3 separate regions of the Homo sapiens genome follow, and all the other regions are linked to region 3. The links are contacts of gene promoters, found by promoter capture Hi-C in human tissues and cell types (Jung and others, 2019). All regions are on one chromosome and are shown on one strand. The core of a region is centred on a gene start or on the middle of the fragment in contact, and the rest is flanking DNA. Distances in the headings are between cores, read along the strand shown.

Region 1 (2,700 bases), core at 176-2,675, 580 kb after region 3:
CTCATATACCATGAATTTCATGGATCCATGTGTCTTTGTGATCACCAGGATCATGAACTTACAAAGCACCCAAGTGAAAACCCCCCGCTTAAGTTAGGTGTTTAAAGAAAGCCGTGCACTCACCACCCCCACTCCCCGATTTTTACCCATTCACTAACACAAGGTTAGAATTTTCCATGCCTAAACTACCATCGTGTGGAAGACAGATCTTTGTGGGAACTGGAACATGATGCTGCATTAACTCTCAAGGATATCCAGTCATTTATAACACCGGCACAACCAACATCCTGGCTTTGTGGATTTGCAAGACAGAAAGCCAGTGAAGAAAAAAATCTGAACTATGAATTTACCTTGAACTGAAAACTGCAGGACAAGGGGACAGTGTTGTCTTGTGGGGATAACTTCTAGCATTTCATTCTGAAGAACAGTTTGTGTGTCACACTGCCACTCTCAACCCCTTTAAAAGGATGAATCAAGACCACAGCACTAAAAGGGACGGGTGGCAGTTGGCTGCGTAATTGGGCCTATGAAAAAAGATCAAGCTAGCAACCAGGGCAATTGATGCTTTCATTTTCCCACACGACGCCAGAAATATGGGAGACATCAGGAACCGGAGCGAAGGGACATGTCAAGTCACCAGTTCCTTTTAATGAACACTCCTGCCGAACCCTTCAGCTCTCGGCCCACTTCCCTCTGATTCCTGCTAACCTTCCCGCTCATTCCAATCCTCTGCAGCCCCTACCCAGCCTTCCGCATCCCTTCCTGCCTGCTACTCACAAATTCCCAACCACTCCTCCCACATTTTCCTCTGTTCCCCCTCCCCTTCCTTCACTTTCCTCCATCCTACATCATTCTCCACTCCATTCCGAACTCAATCCTCATCTGCAATCCTGCAGGCTTCCAAGCCGCCCATCGGTCTCCCGCGAGCTGCCCCCGCAGTCCGGGCCAGCGTCCTCGGTGCCCCTCGCTCCCACGCCTCTTCCCGACTCGGTTCCTTCCCAACGGCACCCGACCTCCCCGCCCCCCGACCGCTCCCGTCCGAGCCTCTCATTTCTGACCCCTCCATCCGCACGGCTCTGGGCTTGACCACTCCTCCACGGCCGCCCGAGGGCCGATCCCGAGAAAGGACGAGGCGGCACCCTCCGCCCCGCACCCCTAGGCCCATTACCGGCCCCGCCGCAGCTGCCTCCTCCCGTGATGGTCTCTGCCGCCCCCGCTGCCGCCGCCGCCCTAGCCCGGTGGGAAGGAGGGAGGAGCGAGCGAGTCCCGGGCCCCGCGGCGACGGCCGGGGAGCTCCCAGGGCGGCAGGGCGGGGAGGGAGGGCGGTGGGCAGCCCAGCCGGCAGGCAGAGAGGGCCGGGCGTCTCCGGCAACTCGGGCGCCCCCGGCAGCAGACGCCCAGAACCGCCCCGGCTCCGGCTAACAATAGGATCCGGCCGCAGCGCACTGGCTCTTATAGGCGCCGGCACGTCCTGACCGAGACCCGGGGCTGGCTGGGAAATGGAGTCTACGGGCCGGCCCACACCCAGCAGCATGCCGGGAGTTGTAGGCGGTAACTGCTGCAAAGCCGAAGCCGGCGCGCAAACCGGCTCCCGAGGCGGCAGCTCTGCTGCAACCTTTTAATGGGGGAAGAGAGGAGACTCAGCTACAGATCTTAAATAAACGAATTCTCCTCCAAAGCTCCCTTTTTCTTTCGTGTCCTGACCACACGCCATTAGGAACATGATCCCCCCTTCTCCTCGCTCATGGGGTCTTAGTCTTCAGCAATATGACTTATTGCAGCCTGCGCAGGTTATAAAGAATACAAGCAATATCTTGAGTTATCTACTTATATGAGGGAGTGCTTTGAGTGTTTTCTTTAAAAAAAAAAAAATTGCTGCCGGGCGCGGTGGCTCACGCCTGTAATCCCAGCACTTTGGGAGGCCGAGGTGGGCGGATCACGAGGTCAGGAGATCGAGACCAACCTGGCTAACAAGGTGAAACCCCGTCTCTACTAAAAAATACAAAAATTAGCCGGGCGTGGTGGCGGGCGCCTGTAGTCCCAGCTACTCGGGAGGCTGAGGCAGGAGAATGGCGTGAACCCGGGAGGCGGAGCTTGCAGTGAGCCGAGATCGCGCCACTGCACTGCAGACTGGGCGAAAGAGCGAGACTCCGTCTCAAAAAAAAAAAAAAAAAAATCTTCTCAACTTTGCAAACTAATTTATTTATTTAAATAGAAAAGGGGTTTTCGCCATGTTGCCCCGGCTGGTCTTGCACTCCTGGGCCCAGGCGATCCGCCCGCCTCGGCCTCCCAAAGTGCTGGGATTATACGCATGAGCCACCGCGCCCTTCCGCAACCTATTTTTAAGAAAGGGCGCCAGGCGCGGTGGCTCATGCCTGTAATCCCAGCACTTTGGGAGGCCGAGGCGGGCGGGTCATGAGGTCAGGAGTTCGAGACCAGCCTGACCAACATGGTGAAACCCTGTCTCTACTAAAAATACAAAAATTAGCCGAGGGTGGTAGCACGTGCCTTTAATCCCAGCTCCTCGGGAGGCCGACCCAGGAGAATGGCTTGAACCCGGGAGGCGGAGGTTGCAGTGAGCCAAGACTGCACCATTGCCCTCCAGCACGGTCAACAAGAGCGAAACTCCGTCTCAAAAAAAAAAAGAAAAAGAAAAAGAAAAAAAAGGGGAAAACCAAGATTAAGAAGTCAAAAGTTGTA
Region 2 (2,717 bases), core at 26-2,525, 740 kb after region 3:
TGGGATCACAGGCGTGAGCCACCGAACCCGGCCCTCCCAGGGTATGTTTCTAATGATGTTCCCCTGGAACAAGCTTTCCTGCACCATCTTTGTCTCAAATCCCTGAGATAGTTCTGCAAACTTCTAGAACTTTCCTAGGGTTCTTATTGCTTGGAAGAGAACATATGTAAAGGCGTTAAATAGGGAAAAGAAAATGTCAAAAATGTTTAAGCAAAAATAAGTCAAAATGTAGTTACTTCTTGCACATGAGAATCTGATTTCTGTAGCAATGAAAATTTTTAATTTGAATAAAAATCACGTAAGCATGAGGTTGTTGGGGAACACGGAAAGGAAGGGCTCAGATTAGGGGGTGTAGCACATTTATCAGGAGGTAAGATCTCCATAGTCTCCTACCCCTCCTGGCCTGGCCTTTTACTGTGGTATCCAGCCTCTGGGAAGACCTTGTATGGACAGTATCTCCACTGGGGCTATCACTAGGTGACCAGGTAGGGGACAGAGTAGAGCAGCCAATGACCTTAACTCAAAATCTTTTCTCTCCCTTCAACCTGTGAAAAAAGATGACTGGGCACATACTCAGATGTCCCCTGGCATAGCCACATCTTGTTGGCCAGTCACAAACACCAGCTCTAGTAAGAGGGCCTGGTTAAAGATATCATAAACAGCTTTCTCCATGTCCCTGGTCCCTGGAGTCAGTGATGTCGGCATTTGGGACTGCGACCTGGCTGGAGCTTGGATTTGCCCACATCAATCAATGCTTCTCCCTGGCTTCAGAGAAAACTTTCCCATAATAAGCAGTCAACGTGTTAGCGATGGAGCCAGGAATAAGCTCCTTGGGGCCTGGGAGTCATTAGATGAAATATTCCTCTTTCTCGCTGCCCTTGGCCAAGTCACTCTCCATCTGGACGATGGCACTGGGCTCACCTTCTGTAGGTTCATAGGTGACGTAGCTGCCTTTGTTCTTGTACAGGTAAAAGAAGATCAAGATCACGACCGAGAGCAGGGTGAGGAAGACAACGGTGATAACAACTTGGAAAGGAGAGGGAAAATGTAGAGATGTTTCAGGATTGAGGATGTCTCAGTAGTTCCTGGAGTCATCTGATTTAGTCACTGTTTTCGTAAAGATCCTCTTGTTTTCATTAACTAGTGTCCACTTCCATCCAAACCCATGTTCCCCCACCAACCCCAATTTCCATGGCACATAATAGCTGGAGTCTCCTGGTGCTTAAGCTAAGGACACATGCTTTTGATTTCTGACAAAACTGAACTGCCTCCCAAACCAGTTCCTGATTCTTAAAGAAACGGGAAGGAGGGAACAGGAAATGGCTTATCCTAACAGGAAGTGGTTTATCTGATCCTCCCCCTCTTCCTCACCCACTCAACCAACCACATATATCCTCGTCCCTACCCACGTACTCAAGTGTAACGTCCGTATGCATATCTATTTGCGGCCACCTCCCAACCTGTCATTTACTGGTAGTGCCTCTGACAGAAGCCTCCGAGTCTTTTATGGCTGTGTGTGTGTGTGTGTGTGTGTGTGTGTGTGTGTAATATAACTTACAAGCCAGAGTGAGCCCATTAATGGATTTGGTCAGGCTCCCTCTGGAGAGAGATGCCCTTGATCCAGAAGGTCCCTTGGAGTTGGCTCAGAGTCTATTACCTGCAATGAGTGCTGTGCTGGCTCCATCTTCTGGGGACAGGGCCTCAGTGGGCTGTAAAATTGGGGTGGTCATCAGTTCTTCTGGAAAATGTAGAAAAGTGGAAAAGGAAATGGAGTGAATTCTTTTGTTTGAAAGCATATGTTTGGCCTTCAAATTTCACCACCCCACCTTCTTCCCTATTCAAAAGTTTATCATTTAACTCCTAGAGTATATCCAAATAGAAAATCCTAGAGAATAAAGAAGAAAATAAACCACCACCCAAAGACAATATGTTGATGGATTTCTCCCTGCATAATATAGTGATTAAGAGTAGGGGCTATAGAGCCTGACAGACTGGGTTTCAAATATGAACTCTGTCCTTTACTAGCTGTGTGACCTTGGGAAAATTACCTAACCTCTATCTGCAAAATGGAGGTAAGAGTACCTACTTTAAAACGTTGTTGTGACATTTAATAAGTCACTCAGTAGGATAAGCCATTATTAGGAATGCATATTTTTACAATAAGTGAGATCAAATGAGTTGTATGTGTATATATTTACATTATATTATATAGCATGTGCATTTTCTTGCAGCATTCTTACTAATTCTTTGTAAACATTATTTTAACATAATGAAATAGTGCTCCTCTCCTATTAAAAACCCTTTTCTACACTTCCAGGATAGGCCCTGCAATTTGAAAGGTTCTGAAACAGGCCTCTCCTCTACCCTAAAATAGATCCTGCACCCCCTCCTGCTACGGGTTTATTTATCCTTCAGAGCGTGAAAGTCCCACCCTAAAGTCATTACCCAGGGACAGAACATGACAAAATGAGTGGTCTCCAGAAGTCCCTTTTAAGTGTTTACACAGGAAGTCAGGAAGCCCTTCCATTCTTTCCTATTAGCATTTTAATGTAGAGGTTACTGCAGGATAGAGGTCTCCTGGGGAAAACCAGCTGGCTGATCCTGGCAACACCCACAGGAGGCACCCCGACCTGACTGGCATCCCATAAACAGCAACACTCACCCACTGCCTCCTCTTTGCTAGGCCCTGTGCTAGATGAAAGGTCGAGCAAAACAGA
Region 3 (2,701 bases), core at 131-2,630:
GGGTTCAAGCGACGTTCCTACCTCAGCTCCCCCAGGTAGCTGGGATTACAGGCATGTGCCACTACTCCCGGCTAATTTTTGTGTTTTTAGTAGAGACGGGGTTTCGCCATGTTGGCCAGGCTGGTCTCGAACTCTTGACCTCAGGTGATCCGCCCACCTTGGCCTCCCAAAGTGCTGGGATCATAGGTGTGAGCCACTGCACCTAGCCTTGGACCCTCTTCATATTAAATTAAAATTAATGTTTTTGGAACACCTATTAGGCCACAGAGTGAGGAGGATGAGTTAAAGTAAGTTCCCTCCTTGTAAGTAGTTAGAAGTATAGAAAGAAAGAAGTGGACCTGCTCTCTATTGTCTTTTTCTTTTCTTTAGACGGAGTGTTTGCTCTCTTGCCCGGGCTGGAGTGCAATGACGCGATCTCAGCTTACTGTAACCTCTGCCTCCTGGGTTCAAGTGATTCTCCTGCCTCAGCCTCTTGAGTAGCTAGGAGTACAGGCATCCGCCACCACGCCCGGCTAATTTTTGTATTTTTATTGGAGACGGGGTTTCACCATGTTGGCCAGGCTGGCCTAGTACTCTTTTTTTTTTTTTTTTGAGTCGGAGTCTCGCGCTCACGCTCAGGCTGGAGTGCAGTGGCGTGATCTTGGCTCACTGCAAGCTCCGCCTCCCGGGTTCACGCCATTCTCCTGCCTCAGCCTCCCGAGTAGCTGGGACTACAGGCGCCCGCCACCACGCCCGGCTAATTTTTTGTACTTTTAGTAGAGACGGGGTTTCACCGTGTCAGCCAGGATGGTCTCGATCTCCTGACTTCGTGATCCACCCGTCTCGGCCTCCCAAAGTGCTGGGATTACAGGCGTGAGCCACCGCGCCCGGTCGGCTAGCCTGGTACTCTTAACCTCAGGTGATCCACCAGCCTCAGCCTCCCAAAGTGCTAGGATTACAGGCGAGAGCCACCGCGCCTGTCTTTTTAAAAGCTAAAACTGAAACGGAAACAGAGCTCCTGGCAGATAGGACCAGGAGCCACAGCGAAGGAGGTGGCCTGTGATTAGGTTTTTATAAATGGGCAGGTATTAATCAGGGAAAATGGAGTAAAGGACACGATAGACATACATTGCTAAGTCTAGTATTGGAAAAAGTAAGGCCTGGGACCCCTAAAAACTTGCTCGAGAGTGAAAGGTAAATGCTATGTGTCCACACTACTGTGGTAAAGCCGACAGTCCATACCATGAGCCCATTTCGCGCAGGGAAATTCGAGTGGTGGGCTTGGGCCCGTCGTTCTGGTAGCTTCCCAGTAGAGGGCGCCGTAAGCATATGCGTCTTCAGCCTGACTGGGCTGGAGAGGCGGTGCGTCCTCCTGGCCGGGGGGCGGGGGCCGTCGCGCTCACGTGACCTTTGCTCATGGCGGCGGCGGCGGCGGCGGCGGTGCTGGTGGTGCTCGGCGGCCGGAGCCGGATCCTGTAGCCGGGTGTGGGCCCGTGTCTGTCCGTCCCTCCTTCGGCCCCCTCTCTTGTCTTCCGGAGTGTGGCTGGCGGAGCTGGGATGGCGGAACGAGGCCTGGAGCCGTCGCCGGCCGCGGTGGCGGCGCTGCCGCCTGAAGTGCGGGCGCAGCTGGCGGAGCTGGAGCTGGAGCTCTCGGAGGGTAGGAGCCGGGCCGGGGAGAGGGCGCCCGGGGCCCTGCGGATCGCGGCGACTTGGGAGACAGGTCCCCGCCGCGCGCTCTGGCGGCCGTGCGGCGAGGGGGACGAGGGTGTAGAGAACCTGGCCTGGCGCTCCACGACCGTTTTCCCTCCTCTCCCACCCCATTAAGTGGTTTCCTGTGGCTTTCATTGTTTTCCCATGGAGGGGACTAAGTAAGGGCTTGTGGAAAGGTCCTCCCGGGCCCACACTGCTTCTGCGCTTCCTGCCCCCCAAAACCCGAGACAAAGCTGCGCCCTCCCGCTTCTGCCCAGGCGTCTGGCCCAGGTGGGGTGAGGGGTAGGGCTGCGAGGAGGGTGGCTGACAGCTTTCTCCTTTCCTCTCCCCTTTTCGTGGAGGGCTCCACGCCTTGTTCCAGCCCCCCCTTCCCCCTTTCAAAAAGAGACACATGGGAAATCCGCAGCATCATTTCTTCTCTTTCCTTTAACAATGCGCGATGCCTCCCCAGTGACAGGAGTGAGACACAAGCGGGTGAGCCATTTAGGGTCCTAGGAAGATAAGAAGCAATGGCATTAACCCAGAGAGACACACGGTGCTGCTTTTAGACCACCTTTGTCATAAGAAGTTTTTTTTTTTCCTGGTGCCTGTTATTCGGGCCGAATTTTCCGCATCTGGTCACCTTTTGGAGTCTTTGATGAAGGAAGGAGAGGAGGCTACCGTTTACTTGCAAATCCTGGCTGGCATTCTTTCTTTTGACAATGGATTGGGACAGGGAGGGTTCGATTTATTTTCAGAATTAAAAAAAAAAAATGGGATAAATCAAGCCACTGTTATTAGAGAACTCCTTGTACAACAATGAGAGAAACACAGTGCTCCGTTGTGGGCATGTGATCAGGCTTCTGGGGCAGTTGTGATCAGTTCTGTGTAAAGTTCCTGTTTTTATCACTGGCTGCCCCTGAGACAAAAGCAGCATTTTCTCCAAGCTTGATACCAGTACTTTGATTGTGTCTCCAGAGTTGCATATTCTTACTGAGTTCCTTGTGGAAGGCCCTCTTCACTAGCATTTTTC

What was found. Contacts are between HindIII fragments. The study calls those that stand out against the background at their distance.
Region 1: a contact is called between the fragment with the promoter of CSRNP2 here and the fragment with the promoter of DIP2B in region 3, in 1 of the 25 tissues and cell types used here (lymphoblastoid cells).
Region 2: a fragment that was not itself captured here is called in contact with the fragment with the promoter of DIP2B in region 3 in 1 of the 25 tissues and cell types used here (hippocampus).

What each region holds. Positions count from the first base shown.
Region 1 is chr12:51,082,171-51,084,870 of GRCh38, forward strand. It overlaps CSRNP2 (cysteine and serine rich nuclear protein 2), which reads right to left and starts at 1,426. Exons shown (of 5, transcript NM_030809.3): 1 at 1,169-1,426. RefSeq lists a silencer at 988-1,477 and an enhancer at 1,851-2,477. The HindIII fragment of the contact is 9,557 bases long and covers 1-2,700 here.
Region 2 is chr12:51,245,094-51,247,810 of GRCh38, forward strand. It overlaps SMAGP (small cell adhesion glycoprotein), which reads right to left. Exons shown (of 4, transcript NM_001031628.2): 3 at 1,658-1,738; 4 at 1-1,026. The coding sequence ends at 848. It also overlaps a transcript of DAZAP2 not described here. Among named protein-coding and RNA genes, the nearest start is that of DAZAP2, 7.6 kb to the left of the region's middle. RefSeq lists an enhancer at 2,356-2,717. The HindIII fragment of the contact is 4,727 bases long and covers 1-2,717 here.
Region 3 is chr12:50,503,605-50,506,305 of GRCh38, forward strand. DIP2B (disco interacting protein 2 homolog B) reads left to right here and starts at 1,381. Exons shown (of 38, transcript NM_173602.3): 1 at 1,381-1,636. The coding sequence starts at 1,537. RefSeq lists a silencer at 1,684-1,793. The HindIII fragment of the contact is 9,488 bases long and covers 1-2,701 here.